Regions from separate parts of the Homo sapiens genome. Here regions 1 and 2 are each linked to region 3. Evidence: promoter capture Hi-C in 16 types of primary human blood cells and fetal thymus (Javierre and others, 2016). All regions are on one chromosome and are shown on one strand. The core of a region is centred on a gene start or on the middle of the fragment in contact, and the rest is flanking DNA. Distances in the headings are between cores, read along the strand shown.

What was found. Contacts are between HindIII fragments. The CHiCAGO score rates a contact against its expected background, and 5 or more counts as called.
Region 1: a contact is called between a fragment that was not itself captured here and the fragment with the promoter of S100G in region 3, in 1 of 17 cell types (naive CD4 T cells). The highest score is 5.3, in naive CD4 T cells.
Region 2: a fragment that was not itself captured here is called in contact with the fragment with the promoter of S100G in region 3 in 1 of 17 cell types (activated CD4 T cells); the score reaches 5.6 in activated CD4 T cells.

What each region holds. Positions count from the first base shown.
Region 1 is chrX:15,715,372-15,719,822 of GRCh38, reverse strand. All of the region lies in intron 3 of CA5BP1-CA5B (CA5BP1-CA5B readthrough), which reads right to left. LOC124905268 (small nucleolar RNA SNORA7) reads right to left here and starts at 3,615; the gene lies at 3,477-3,615. The HindIII fragment of the contact is 494 bases long and covers 2,641-3,134 here.
Region 2 is chrX:15,697,623-15,701,921 of GRCh38, reverse strand. The region is part of intron 3 of CA5BP1-CA5B (CA5BP1-CA5B readthrough); the gene reads right to left. It also overlaps the pseudogene CA5BP1. Among named protein-coding and RNA genes, the nearest start is that of CA5BP1-CA5B, 24 kb to the right of the region's middle. The HindIII fragment of the contact is 1,313 bases long and covers 2,272-3,584 here.
Region 3 is chrX:16,647,894-16,652,712 of GRCh38, reverse strand. It overlaps S100G (S100 calcium binding protein G), which reads right to left and starts at 2,555. Exons shown (of 3, transcript NM_004057.3): 1 at 2,510-2,555; 2 at 1,572-1,714. The coding sequence starts at 1,706. All of the region lies in intron 13 of CTPS2 (CTP synthase 2), which reads left to right. The HindIII fragment of the contact is 12,685 bases long and covers 1-2,760 here.

The DNA.
Region 1 (4,451 bases), core at 1,638-4,137, 930 kb after region 3:
CACTAAGACTCAGTGTTTTACTGTCTTCAACCCTAGCTATATAGATGACTAAGCAAAAGCCAAAGAAAGCCACTTGATACTTTTATGAAGTGTAAGGCTAAAGGAAAGCTGAAGCAGGTTTCTATGTCCTTAGCATAGCTTTCTTCCTTGATGCAAATAAAATGCTTTGTTATAATCTCTATCTCTATGTATATTGATTTTTCCTTACCATCATGACTTTACTTAGTTTAACATTTCCCAAGATGACTTCATCTAGTCTGGCTTTTTTTTTTTTTTTTCCAGGGGTTAGCTAGGTGAGCTCTTCCTTCTGGAAATTTCCATTGCACTTAATATAGTGACATTGCTAGGATGGCTGGACTAAGTTGTGGCTCCCTCTTCTTTTAGTACAGCTTTTCCTGACTCCGTGTCCTTGCGACCAAGATGAAGGAGAGAGAAAAAGCTTCCTCAGTTGGATTTAGCTGATGGACATGGGTCCTTTACAATAAAATACCACCCTTGCAAGGAGGAAGAAATGATGTGTTTCTCAAAGTGCTGCAGAAGTCTCATTGTTGATATTTTCCTCGTTGTTGCTTTGAAAATCCAATATTTCTATTTAACACCAAGGTCACCCAATCTAATTCTGCCATTCATGATTTTCGAGGAATGGGGTAGAATTTGGGGACTGAATTTATGAAGAGGCAGCATGGTAGAGAGGAAAGCCCTGACATCAACCTCTGGGCGGGGCGTCGATTGGCATCTGTGGAATGCCCACGGGGAAAGATTCTTTTACACTCATTATCTTAATTCTCAGAGCATCTCTGAGGTTTTGTTGCAACTTCAGCGTTCTTTTTTAACTTTTATTTTAGGTTCAGGGGTACATGTGCAAGTGTGTTATATAGGTAAATTGTGTGTCACGGGAGTCTGGTGTACAGATTATTTTGTCACCCAGACAATAAGTACAGTATTCGATAGGTAGTTTTTCGATCCTCTCCCTCCTCCCACCCTCTACCCTCAAGTAGGTAAGAGGAAGCTCTGAAGCTCTCCTGGGATGTTCACCCGCTGTGGTGAGTCAGGTGAGGCCCTTCATGGAAGGGCACCCTTTGTTTACCAGAGAGAAAGGAGTCACGTTTGTTTCCTGAATGAAGATAGTCTGTCTATGAACCAGGTATCCTAGCCCCGAAAAGGTGGAAGGTGCATGCCAAAAAACCTCTAGATAGGACTCAATTCTTCCCATCATACACGTAACCAGAGACTCGCAGAAGGGGTGAGGGAAGGATTCCAACTTTGAGTCAGCAGAGGAAACATTCTTTTGAGGTAGAGTCTGGAAAAAAACAACGAATCTGTAGATTTCCATAAATAACTGACAGGAGACAGGTGACTTCTATGAAAATATTAACCCAAATGATGGGTGTTAATCATTAAACCTTTTAGGTGGTGGCTTTGTTCTTTTTCTGATATTTTAATCTGGGTCACAGAATGGCTCAGGCAGCTTTAAGTGCAGAGTGGGTTTTTCTTCCTTTTTTGTTTGCCTTTTGTTTTCTATTCCAAAAGGATGTTGTGACCTCTTTTCCTGGTAACTGCTATTCTTCCCTCCCTCCCTCCCTCCCTCCCTCCCTCTCTCTCTCTCTCTCTTTCTTTCGAGATGAAGTTTCACTCTGTGGCCCAGGCTGGAGTGCAGTGATGAGATCGTGTTCAAGCAATTCTCCAGCCTCAAACTCCCAAGTAGCTGGGATTACAGGCGCCCGCCACCACGCCCGGCTAATTTTTGTGTTTTTAGTGGAGACAGGGTTTCACCATGTTGGGCAGGCTGGTCTCGAACTCCTGACCTCAAGTGATCCACCTCCCAAAGTGTTGGGATTACAGGCATGAGTCACCGTGCCTGGCCAGAAATTGCTATTCAGGTGGAACTCTGTCAACCAGGTAGTTAGCCTTGAAACTTAAAAATACATTAACATGGGCCAGTAAGAGAAAAGGCTGGACAATAACCACTGTCAAAACAGCAATAAAAATAATATTAAAAAACAGCAATAAACAACCTAATTTTGCATCCAGCTCTGTTCCAAGCAAAAATAAAAAAAATAAACAAAAACAAACCAGTTTTCTGTTGAGTGCATCTTTGATTTAAAGGACTTGTTATTTCTCTAAATTTGCAGATGTGTTGAGGCTTGAAATTTGAGCCTGTGACTGTTTTATGAGTTTCAACAGAAAATATTAAACCACCTAAAATGACAGAGGGTAAACTTTCAGTAAATAATTTGGAGCCATTCAGTTGTAGATCTGTTTTTTGTTCATTCCAGTTGCATAAAATATTAGGAATCACTGGGCTCTGTTTGACACATTTTGTCATTATTACCACTCTTTCGAGTGCTCAATAGCCATCTATGTGTAGTGGCTGCCATATACAGACACAGAACATTCCCATCATCACAGAATGTCCCATTGGACAACGCTGTTCTATAGCATTAACTTTGATTTTCACAGCTGCCAGATTTTTGGGTTGATCAAAACCAACCCCTTTGCAAGAAAATGCTTTTAGAGTGAGACAGAGCAGCTCTGGCAACTAAAACGGTAAGTGAAGTACCTGAGTGTTCATTTTGAAAAAATTGCTTTCTAATAACACTTTCTTTATTGCTGGGCCCTTCTGCATAGTTATCTTAAGCTTGAGTAAATCATTCCTAAAGACCTCATTCCAATGTTTTATTAAAGCAATAATAGACTAAAATGGAAATTGTTAATAAAATGGTTTTTATTAAAGTATTTATAGTACATGCTAGAAGTATGAACTGATGACACAACTAGTATGTGTCACTTGGCCTGTGAAACCATATGTGGGATATAAAGATATGTTCAATTATATACATTTATTGAGCACCTATTATGTGTCAGATACATGCACAACAGGTGGCTAAACTGCTATGGACCTTCTTGTACGTGTTTTTTCTGTATGCTTTTTCTTGGGTATTTACTTAGGAATAGAAATTTGGGTCACAGAGTATACATATGTTGAGAGCTATTATCTCTTTCCTTATCCTCTTGTGAGTTGTACACCTTCTCATTAGTATATATGCTCAATTTCACTTATGCATGGAGGCTCTTTCTTTGAAATGTTTTGAATGCCCTAGGAGAAGTATGCTATGTATTTCAATGAACAAGCTTTCAATCTGTTCACACTTGCCCAGGATAAGTTGGTTCCACTGGCAGGATACCCAACCCAATCTAGAACTACATCAATCCTGTTCTGATCTAAATAGCTTGGGGCTTTCTTTTGTGACCAAAACTGGACCCCTACCCAGCCAGCTCAAGCTCTTGGTTTTAAGAGGAATCAATGAAAGGACAGATCAGGTTAAATCATCCTCAAGATCTGAAAAACAATTTAAGTATGTGTTCTGGTGAGAGTTGGCTAGCATCTTCATTTTAAAAAATACTGTATTTCTCTTTTTCTCAGACCCATGTTAAAGAAGAATCATGGAAGGAGGGTTTCCTGTCCAGGGATTGAACACTGTTGCAGAGTTTCTTCCAATCACCAGCTACTGAGCAAGCTGGGAATGAAATGGGTACCTCTGCCAGATTTGCTTTTCATCCAGTTTCCAAAGCTGGCAGAATACTATCCACTTCCAGATGCCATCCTGGGAGGTAGGATCTTCATTTTTATCTGCTGCTCTGAGCTTATCATTGTTATCTACACTTGAACAGGCTCATTCATCATCTCTACATTGTGTTAATAAGCCTTCCCTATCTTTACAGCATGTACCAACTCTTAATCAACAATAGTCTTTCTTGATTTTCAAGTTTGTAGATTAGAGGTCTTTGTGTGCTTCTGCTACTTAAGCAGGGAAAGGCACCAAGGGGATAGTGAAACTCAAATTTATTTTTCCTTATATTTATGAAAATAACTTTGAGGAAAGAGAATCCTAAAATTCTTCACCGAAATGAGGATTTGGATTTTATTTGTATTTCAGCAAGTTATTCTTTTCCTATCTGAAGTTATATTACAGATAGTACAAGGGAACATCTAAAGCCAGTTCTTCCTTCATGCCCAAGGGAGTTGTTTCACTGCAATGTAAATTAGTTTGAAATCCATCCTGGCTGGGCACAGTGGCTCACACCTGTAATCCTAACACTTTGGGAGGCTGAGGTGGAAGGATAACTTGAAACCAAGAATTCAATACCAGTCTGAGTACAAAGTGAGACCCCGTCTCTACAAAACATTTTTAAAAAATTAATTGGGCACGGTGGTGTGTACCTGTTGTCCCACCTACTTGGGAGGCTGAGTAGGAAGAATCACTTGAGTCCAGGAGTTCAAGGCAGCAGTGACCTATGATCATATCACTGCACTCCAGCCTGGGTGACATAGAAAAACCCTGTCTCAAAAAAAAAAAAAAAATTCCATCCTATGAGCAAAATAGCCATTAATGATATATGAAACATTCCTTCTAGTTTTCAGTAGTCAATGAGAAAGCCTACCCTCACAG
Region 2 (4,299 bases), core at 1,679-4,178, 950 kb after region 3:
AAAAAAGTCGCAACCAATTGAAGATTGGGCAATAGATTTGGCCCAGACTGAGGCAGATGGGTGAATAGTAAAGACAATAAATAGAGCTTAATGAGGAAGCACCAAATGCTTTTTGAGGTCAGAGGGGGCCAAGTGTTTTGCAATGCAGGGTTGGGGTCAGCCAGTAGTTGCAGGGGAATGAGATCCCTAACACTCTCCTCTCACCAATGAATTCCTTTGGTTTTTTGCCTGATTCCTTATTTATGGAATCATCTCTGGGTATATGATTTTCAAAACCTAGAGATATTCCTATGGTATAATTCAGTATAATTTTCTTCTAAAGACAGTTCTCATAATGAGTGGAATGACTTTTTATTCATATCTAAGACATCTCAAGATAATGGCATCAGAGTAGGTATAGACTTTTTTTTTTTTTTTTTTTTTGAGATGGAGTTTCGCTCTTGTTGCCCAGGCTGTAGTGCAATGGCGTGATCTTGGCCCACTGCAACCTCCGCCTCCCGGGTTCAAGCAATTCTCCTGCCTCAGCCTCCCAAGTAGCTGGGATTACAGGCGCCCACCACCACGCCCAGCTAATTTTTTGTATTTTTAGTAGAGACGGGGTTTCACCATGTTGGCCAGGCTGGTCTTGAACTCCTGACATCAGGTGATCCGCCTGCCTCAGCCTCCCAAAGTGCTGCGGTTACAGGAATGAGCCACCGCACCCGGCCTAGACTTCTTATAATATATTTTTCTTTCCAATATCTATAGAATTTCCCATATCCTTTTTGCAATATAAGCCAGTGGTTGTTATTCTGTTTGTGGCTAAAGACTCTCTAACAAACCACAATTTTGTCCCGGTGAGGTACAGGCAGTCATAAGCGAATCATCACTAAATATGCCTTCTACTGGTTAATCAAGGTGTTGATTAGTTAAAAGCCATTCTCATAGACTTGAGAAGATGTCTGTTTCTTCTTCTCATACAACAAGAGGTACAGCATTTCATTGGTTAGTTGATATTAGGGATTAGTGTCTATCAGTGGTGTTCAACAAGGGGTGAGTTTGCAATTGACAGTGGAGAATGTCTGGAGACATTTTTGGTTGTCATGACCTGGGGAGGTGGTACTATAGGCACTCAGTGAGTCGAGGCCAGGGATGCAATTAAACATCCTGCAATGCACAGGACAGTCTCCACAACCAAGAATGATCTGCCCTCAATGTCAGTGGTGCTGAGGTTGAGACCTTTCATCCAGCTTCCTCTAATGTTATATAATCACGATGCATTCATCAAACTAAGAAATTAACATTGGGTTGATACTGTTAAGTGAACTCCAGACTTTAGATTGCCCAAGTGTCCTTTGTCTTCTCCAGAACCTACTCCTCCTTGGTCTCCTCCACTCTGGAGTTTTTCTGCCTTGTTTTTCATGACCTTGATGCTTTTGAAGACGGCTGGTGATGTATTTTGTAGAAGTCCTTTTTCAGTTTGGTTTTGTCTTTTCTCATGATTTAGATGAGGGAATACAAATTTTGGAGGAGGAATGCCATAGAGGTGACTGGTATTTAGGTTGTTTGCAAACAATGGTGCAAAGAATAACTATGTATATGTATTATTGTTTAGGTCTGCAGTTTATGTGTAGGATAAATTGCTGTTTGGTAAACTGCACTCTGATAGCTACTACAATAGTACCAACTTAGCATTGTATCTTCCTTTGATATTGTAATTAACTATTAGTAAAACAACATACTTTTTAGCCTATTATATCTTTATTCATGTGTCATTACCACCTACCAGTAACACATGAGGCTGCCCATGCTCCACACTTGTACCAGCACTGTGAGCAATACAATTTTGGGGTTTCTGCTAATCTGATATGTGAAAATTTGTATTTCAGTGTAGTTTCATCTTGTTTCGTCACTTTTTATAAGCAAGGCTGAAAATTTTTTCACATGGTATTGGGTTTCTTGTTTCCTTAACTGTAAGCTGTCTGTTTATACCATTTGCTGTTGATTATCTAAAAACTGATTTCTAGAAACTCTTTGTATATTAGGGCAATTAACTCTCTGTTTTGTTCACTATGATGTCTCAAACACCTAGAAGAGTAGCTGGCATATAGTAGGCATTGAATAAATAGTAGCTGAATGAGGGAACAGAGTTGCAAATGTTTTCCCTGTTTGTCATTTATCTTTTGTTTACGGTGATTTTCATCAGAAAGGATTTTAAAATTTTTGTATGTAGTCTAATTGCTAGTTGTTTTCTTGATTACTTCTGGGTTTTGATTTATAGTTAGAAAAGCTTCCTCCACTTGGATGTATGAAAGAATTTTCCTATGCTTATCCTCGTACTTCTATGGCATTTTTTTACCTTTAAAGTTTTGTTCCATCCAGAATATATTTTTGTCAGGATTGAACGATGGGTCCAACTTTTTCTCCTAAATGCCTGCTCAGTTGTCCCCCAATGCCATTTACTGGATTTATCTTTTCCTGCATTGAGCTGAGATCCTATCTTTACCATAAAGTAAATTCTCATGTATTTGGACATATTTCTGAACTATTTTCTTCCTTGATTTATCTTCCTATTCATGTGCTAGTATCATACTATTTAATTATTGTGGCTTTAAAGCCTTATGGGTCTAATCATTCCTTATTTTCCTCCTTTAGAATTTTTCCAGCTATTCATGCTTATCTGCTTTTCCACATGAACTCTAGAAGTACTATATCTAGTTTTAAAATTCTGTTGGTATTTTTATTAAAACCATATTAAATTTATGGAATCAACTTAAGGAGAACTGACATCAAAGGTGTCTTTATAATATCTTCCTATGTAAAAACAGGGTATGAATTTTATAAAGTCAAGTCTTCTGTGTCCCTCAGAAATGTTTTATAGCTTTCTTAACATTTTATGTTGTTTATTAACATTATTTTAGTTTCTATTATAAGTAGGTTTCCTTCTTCTGTTATGTCTTTTAACTAACTGTGAGTTATATATGCCAACGGAATTGATTTCTATAAATTGACATGGTACTCCACTAATTGCTGAATTATCTTTGTAGGAGTTTTTAGTGTTTCTCTAATGTTCTTTATGTTTTTTGGCCTAACTTTATTGGCTCCTGCCAGAGGTTAATTCAATTAAATTTAATATTTAGTATGCTAATAACCATGGAGTTAATGATATCCTTTCCACATTAAACATACTATTTATTTTTGAGCTGAGATAAATCTACTTCATCCAGTTAGGGAATTCTTCATTTCTGTTTTATTAAAAAAATTTTTAAAGGGATGGTGGGTTTTGTCTAACGTATTTTAGGAAATCCATGGAAATGATCATATAGATTTGTTGATGGGATGAAATCCATTAATTGTAAGTATATCATTCTTAGTACTGAACCATCTGTGGATTACTGGAATAAACCCTACCTGGACAAAGTATATATTTCTTCTAATGCACTGCTAGATTCTATTTCTACTATTTTATTTAGCTTTTTTTTCTGTTGTTACATATTTTTTAGAGATATTGGCCTATTGTTATATTTTGGGGGTAGGATGGTCTAATCTTTGATAGGTTTTGGTATCACTGTTATCCTGGCTGCATGAAAAAGAGGCTGGAAGCTTTTAGTCAATAAAAATCCAATATGAACAAGTAAACGCAGTTATTATTACAGTTTAGTTTATGAATTAAACAGGATTTTGTGTGCTGATGTAGTAACCACCACTTAGACTTAGTTTCTAAGAGAAAAATAAATCCCAAGTTTCAAACAACTGACTTACATGAAAATTTCTGGATGAATATTGTCGGAGTCTGTCTTTATCCTGAGATTCTATAGCAAAACTCCCTTAAGGATTTTAAAGGGTTTTGAATACACCCATTTCCAGCCTTCGTTTTTTTATTTAAAAGGGTCTTAATTTTCATAGAGAATCTACACAATGCATGTATAATAAAAACATATGTCACTGTCAAATATAGATGTAAAAAGCTTATGTTCTTCTATGTTTTAACTCTTCTCTCTAGCTAATTTGAAATATCTCTAAATTCATGTCCAAACTGAGATAAGACGTTGGTACACTTCAATAAAAATGTATAAGCATTACAAGATGTTAAAACTGATGCCACAGTCTGAGCCCAGCCTTGTTTTAAAAGGGGAGACGAGGATTTCCTTAGATGAAAATTGTGGAGAGAACGTACCTGATCATCATCAACCTCTACTGGCTGCTTCTTAATGATAAAGGTGATGGACTCAAGACAGGGCTGGACCAGGGAGATACTGGACCTACTTGGGTCCAGTAATCTAGACAGGTGGGCACCAGGCAGGAAGTGCCAAACGACCC
Region 3 (4,819 bases), core at 1,306-3,805:
ATGTCTTACGTACTTTTTGTAGGAAAGACATAAAATATAGAAAAAGTTACCCGTGTTACCTTTTGAAACAACTTGTTTGAGTACATGGCCTAGGCTTTCCTGTTAGATGATTATTTTTCTTCCTTTTAGAAAAAATAAAGGGTCTTTTAAAATTTTAAATTTTTTCACTAACTTGTTTTGCTGTTTAATTAAAAAGTCCCTTTTTCTGCTAGTGACTTTAAGTGTTTTTACAAGTTCTTCTATATTTCAACTATGAGAAAATGAGAAAATATCAGATTCTGGGGTCATTGAATTCAGCTTTTTTCTTTTTTAGTATTAAAAACAGAAGTCTTTCCAATTGTCATATTGGCAGAAGGGACATTTCTGGTTAAAATCTGGAGAGCTGGTTAAAATATTTGAAGAAATGTTCTTTCCTGAAGTTAGAGCTAAATAGTGACTGAGTCATACAAAACAATTCCATAGTCACTTCTGTTGTGAAGATGGTTTTTAATTGCAAAATGACAATGACTCTCTCCTTTGAGTCCTCTGCTCGACTAGGCCTGACCTTGGGCTTCCCTCTCTGTCCTTGTATCTGACTACCCTTAATATTTGATCACCTGGCCTGCCTTCAGCTAGAATCCTATCAAGGCAATTTAGCCAGAAGCTCCTTATCCTGGATATTTCCTTGGTAATTTTCCATCCACTGGCCCCCCCCATCCTGCTCTATGGTCATAAACCCCCACTTATCCTTTCTGGAGTTGAGCCCAATCTCTCTCCCCATGGCAAGAACACGTTTCAGTGGTCCCTGTATGGGTCGCCATGGCCCTCCTGGAGTAAGTTGCCTTACCATCCTTGGCAAGTGTCCTGACTCAGCTTTTTCTTTAGCAAAAGGAAAGACAGTACTGTATATTGGAGTGAGGACGATCAGCTCTTCTCTGTACTCTGTTGCCTTGAATGCATTTTGATTTTGACAACTCTGGGGTGATTTTGATGTGAAACTTTATGGCCCAGGAAATTTAGTCCTTTCTTGAAAGTTGTTTAGAAATGCACGGTTGCCTCATTAACACAAATTTAAGTGATGAACACAAATGTAAATGCTTTTGAAATATAAATGAGTGCTGACAAGGCAATTTGTCAGTGGGTTTTCCTAACAGACTGCTAAGTAAGTGTTGGTCTTGTTGAGGGATTTTACATACACAAATGAAGCCTGTCCAAGGCCAGCTAACACTATTTTGCAGTCCTCTTTGTTTTCCTAAAGCCTGGCACAGAAGTACTGAATCCATGCTGAAGGCCTTATTGGGTTTGCTTGGTGACTTGTGGGTCTTCCAGGCATAACTTGGCATTGCTTCCATTTATTATGGCTAGTCCTGCAGAGTCCTGTGCTGAGGCTGCAGGAGGGATAGAAGGCTTGGCCCTTGTTTTCTGAGAGCTTGCCTTCTGAAATGTGGCCTGACTTAAGGGGAAGAAACCCCACCTGCATGTGTCCTCCCTCAAGCGACGGTCCCTATAAGGCTCTACCGGAGTCCTCTCCCCTCCCTCCCTCCCCTCCCACCATCAGTCCCATTAAGTGGGCTCTGCGGATGGCCACTTACTTTGAGTAAACTGGGGAATTCAGCCTGAATCAATAGCTTCAGTTCATCCTTTGACAACTGGTCTGGATCACCTTCTTTGGCTGCATATTTTTCAAAAATCCTCTTCAGTTCCTCAGGAGACTTTTTAGTACTCATTCTGGTGTCTTATAAATTGGGAAGAAAATAAACTTACCAAAAAGCTGAAGTACAGTTTTGTGCTGAGGGTTGTCTGCAGGATTTTAGTGCCATTGGGCCATTTCCTTGGCATAAATGGGGAAGAATAAGGAAAAGAGAATGTCGGGGTCGGAATGGCACCAGTAACTACTAACATGTTTAAAAAATAAGCATCTTAGGCCAGGCACGGTAGCTCATGCCTGTAATCCCAGCACTTTGGGAGGCCAAGGAGGGTGGATCACTTGAAGTCAGGAGTTCGAGACCATGGAAGCCTGGCCAACATGGTGAGACCCTGTCTCTATACAAAAATTAGCCAGGCGTGGTGGTGCGTGCCTATAGTCCCATCTACTTGGAAGACCGAGGCAGGAGAATCGCTTGAACCCGGGAGGCGGAGGTTGCAGTGAGTGCGATGCCACTGCACTCCAGCCTGGGTGACAGAGCGAGCCTCCGCTGCAAAAAAAAAAAAAAAAAAAAAAAGACATCTTAGATAGTATGTTAAATGTCTGTTCTTAGAGTACATCTGTTAGGAGATGGTCCCTGGAGCCAAACATTTTTATTAGTAATTAATGACATTCTACACTTTTTATGTACCTGATCTGCACTCTGCAGGCTGTGGTCTTGAAGAATACTTGACCACAGCTTCTAGCTTCTAAGTTACAGGGAATATCTCCAGATGGCATAAACTCACCTTCTCTCCAGACCATTATCTTTCACACCATTCTAAAAGGAAGCAGAGTATTAATGCAAACAGAAGGAGCTCTAGGTAGTACCAAAATCACACTAACCTGGTTGCCCAATAGTGAAACAGCTAGAAGAATCAAAGAGGAGTTTGAAGAGCTGAGCAGAATCATGACACTTTTATAGTCTTTACGGGCACGCCACCCTGATTATGAAAATTTCCTTTTGTTGGCCATTTAAGGGTAATTATTAATGGTTTTTGAAACTCAGGCTTAAGACTGCATGAACCCCATAATTAAGGGCAAGATCCAGTAAAGGTCCATCTCGACAGTTGCTTCATGGTTCAGAGTCGTAAGCTTGGATTTTTTTCCCCCTGAGATTATATTTTCCCTCCAATGTAGAATTATATTTGCTCACAGTTCACATTTCATAAAGCTTAGATATAGAGGATTCTTTTCAATTTAGTTGCATATTTAGGCTTTAAAAAATAACTTTCTTCATATCCAGAAAAAATAAATGCTGCCCTGTGCGGTAGCTCATGCCTGTAATCCCAGCACTTTGGGAGGCCGAGGCAGGAGGATTGCTTGAGGTGAGGAGTTTGATACCAGCCTGGTCAACACAGCAAGACATTTCTACTGAAAAATTTAAAAAATCAGCCAGGTGTGATGGTACATGCCTGTAGTCCCAGCTACTGTAGAGGCTGAGGTGGGAGGATTCCTTAAGCCTGGGAGGTTGAGGCAACAGTGAGCCATGATTGTGCCACTGCACTCCAGCCTGGGTGACAGAGTGAGATCCTGTCTGTAAAAAAGAAAAAATGCTGTCATAGAAGGACAATATTACATAGTTTAAAAAATTACGGTATGGCCATTGAAGTCCTTCTGATGTCTTTACATATTAGCAGCTTAAATATTTGAATACATGAATGAATGAATGGAAGTATTGCTTCAGAAGCAGGTTTAAGAAGTGGAAAGAAGATACTCAGTAATTTGTGGTTTTATTTGGCAAATCAATATTGAGTAACATGGTCATTTTTTCAGCTCTTTCATTATTTGTTGGTCCTGTGTCTGCTTTTTATTTCTCATTATCCTTTTCCTTACCAAATATATTTCGTGATCATTCGAAAAACTTGTGAGAACACTCGACTTACTCTTGTTCAGTTGGAAATACTTCAAACTTTTTGTAACTGCCATGATTTAAAATTGCCAAGGAGATTGATTTCTACTGGAAAGAGTTCCATGAAATAAGTAGGACATTTCCAAGGGACATTGATCTAATGCTGATTGTAACTCACAGGAAGGGGTTCCAGGTGGATTTTAAGAGCACTTTACAGCTTTGAAACACTTGTACACTTCCACACTTATAGAATTTTCCCTGACTCTGCCTTATATCACCTACAAACTGAGGACTGGACTATTGGGACTGTATTTCTCCCTGATGTTTCTCAGCTCTAAAATTCTAGGGCCTTATTTACATTGGAGAACAAATGGGAAATCTAATAGAATTCCTTAAAAGCTTCCCGCCAGTCTTGAGCATTTATCATTCCATGTGTCTTTGCTGTCTTGTATATATTCTTCTTGTTTTTATTATGGATTCTTTGACTTTGCTATGCACCAATATAGAATATGTATTAACTCACTGGTTGGAGTAAAGACAGGCATTTTATTTTTAGTTATAAGATTTTACACAAAAATATTCTGATTTTGGCAATGCATTTTAATCAAGATTTTAGAAAATTGCCAGTGTTTTTACACATATGTTCTGTTTTCCTGGGAGGAAGTAGGCGTTTGTGCTTAATCATAACAAGAACTATCTTTTTTTAAACATCTTTTAAAAAATATTTCAGATCTACAGAAAAGTGGCAAGAATAGTGCAATGAACACCAGTCTGCCTTTCGACTAGATTCACTAATTGCGAACATCTCCACATTTGCTTTCTCTTTCTCTGGACAGATACTTTCCTCCACCCCTGAGTCATTTGAGAATCAATTACAAACATCCAGATGCTTCCCCCCTGAGCACCTCAGCATCTGTCTCCTAAGGACAAAGACATTCTCCTATGTAACCACAATGCCATTATCATAGCCCACGTCAAATCTCTCCAATTGTTGAATAGCATCTTAAATCATCTTTTCTCTCAAATTACCACTAGTGAGCTAAAATCAAATGGGGTGTTTATTATGTTTTGCATCTGGTTTTTTTGTTTATTTTTTTGAAGCCACTTCACTGTGTCACTCAGGTTGGAGTGCAGTGGCGTGAACACAGCTCACTGCAGCCTCAACCTCCATGGGCTCAGGTGATCCTCCTACCTCAGCCTCCCGAGTAGCTGGGACTACAGGCATGTGCCACCATGCCCGGATACATATATATATATTTTGTGTATTTCTTGTAGAAAAATACAACATGGGTTTTGCCATGTTG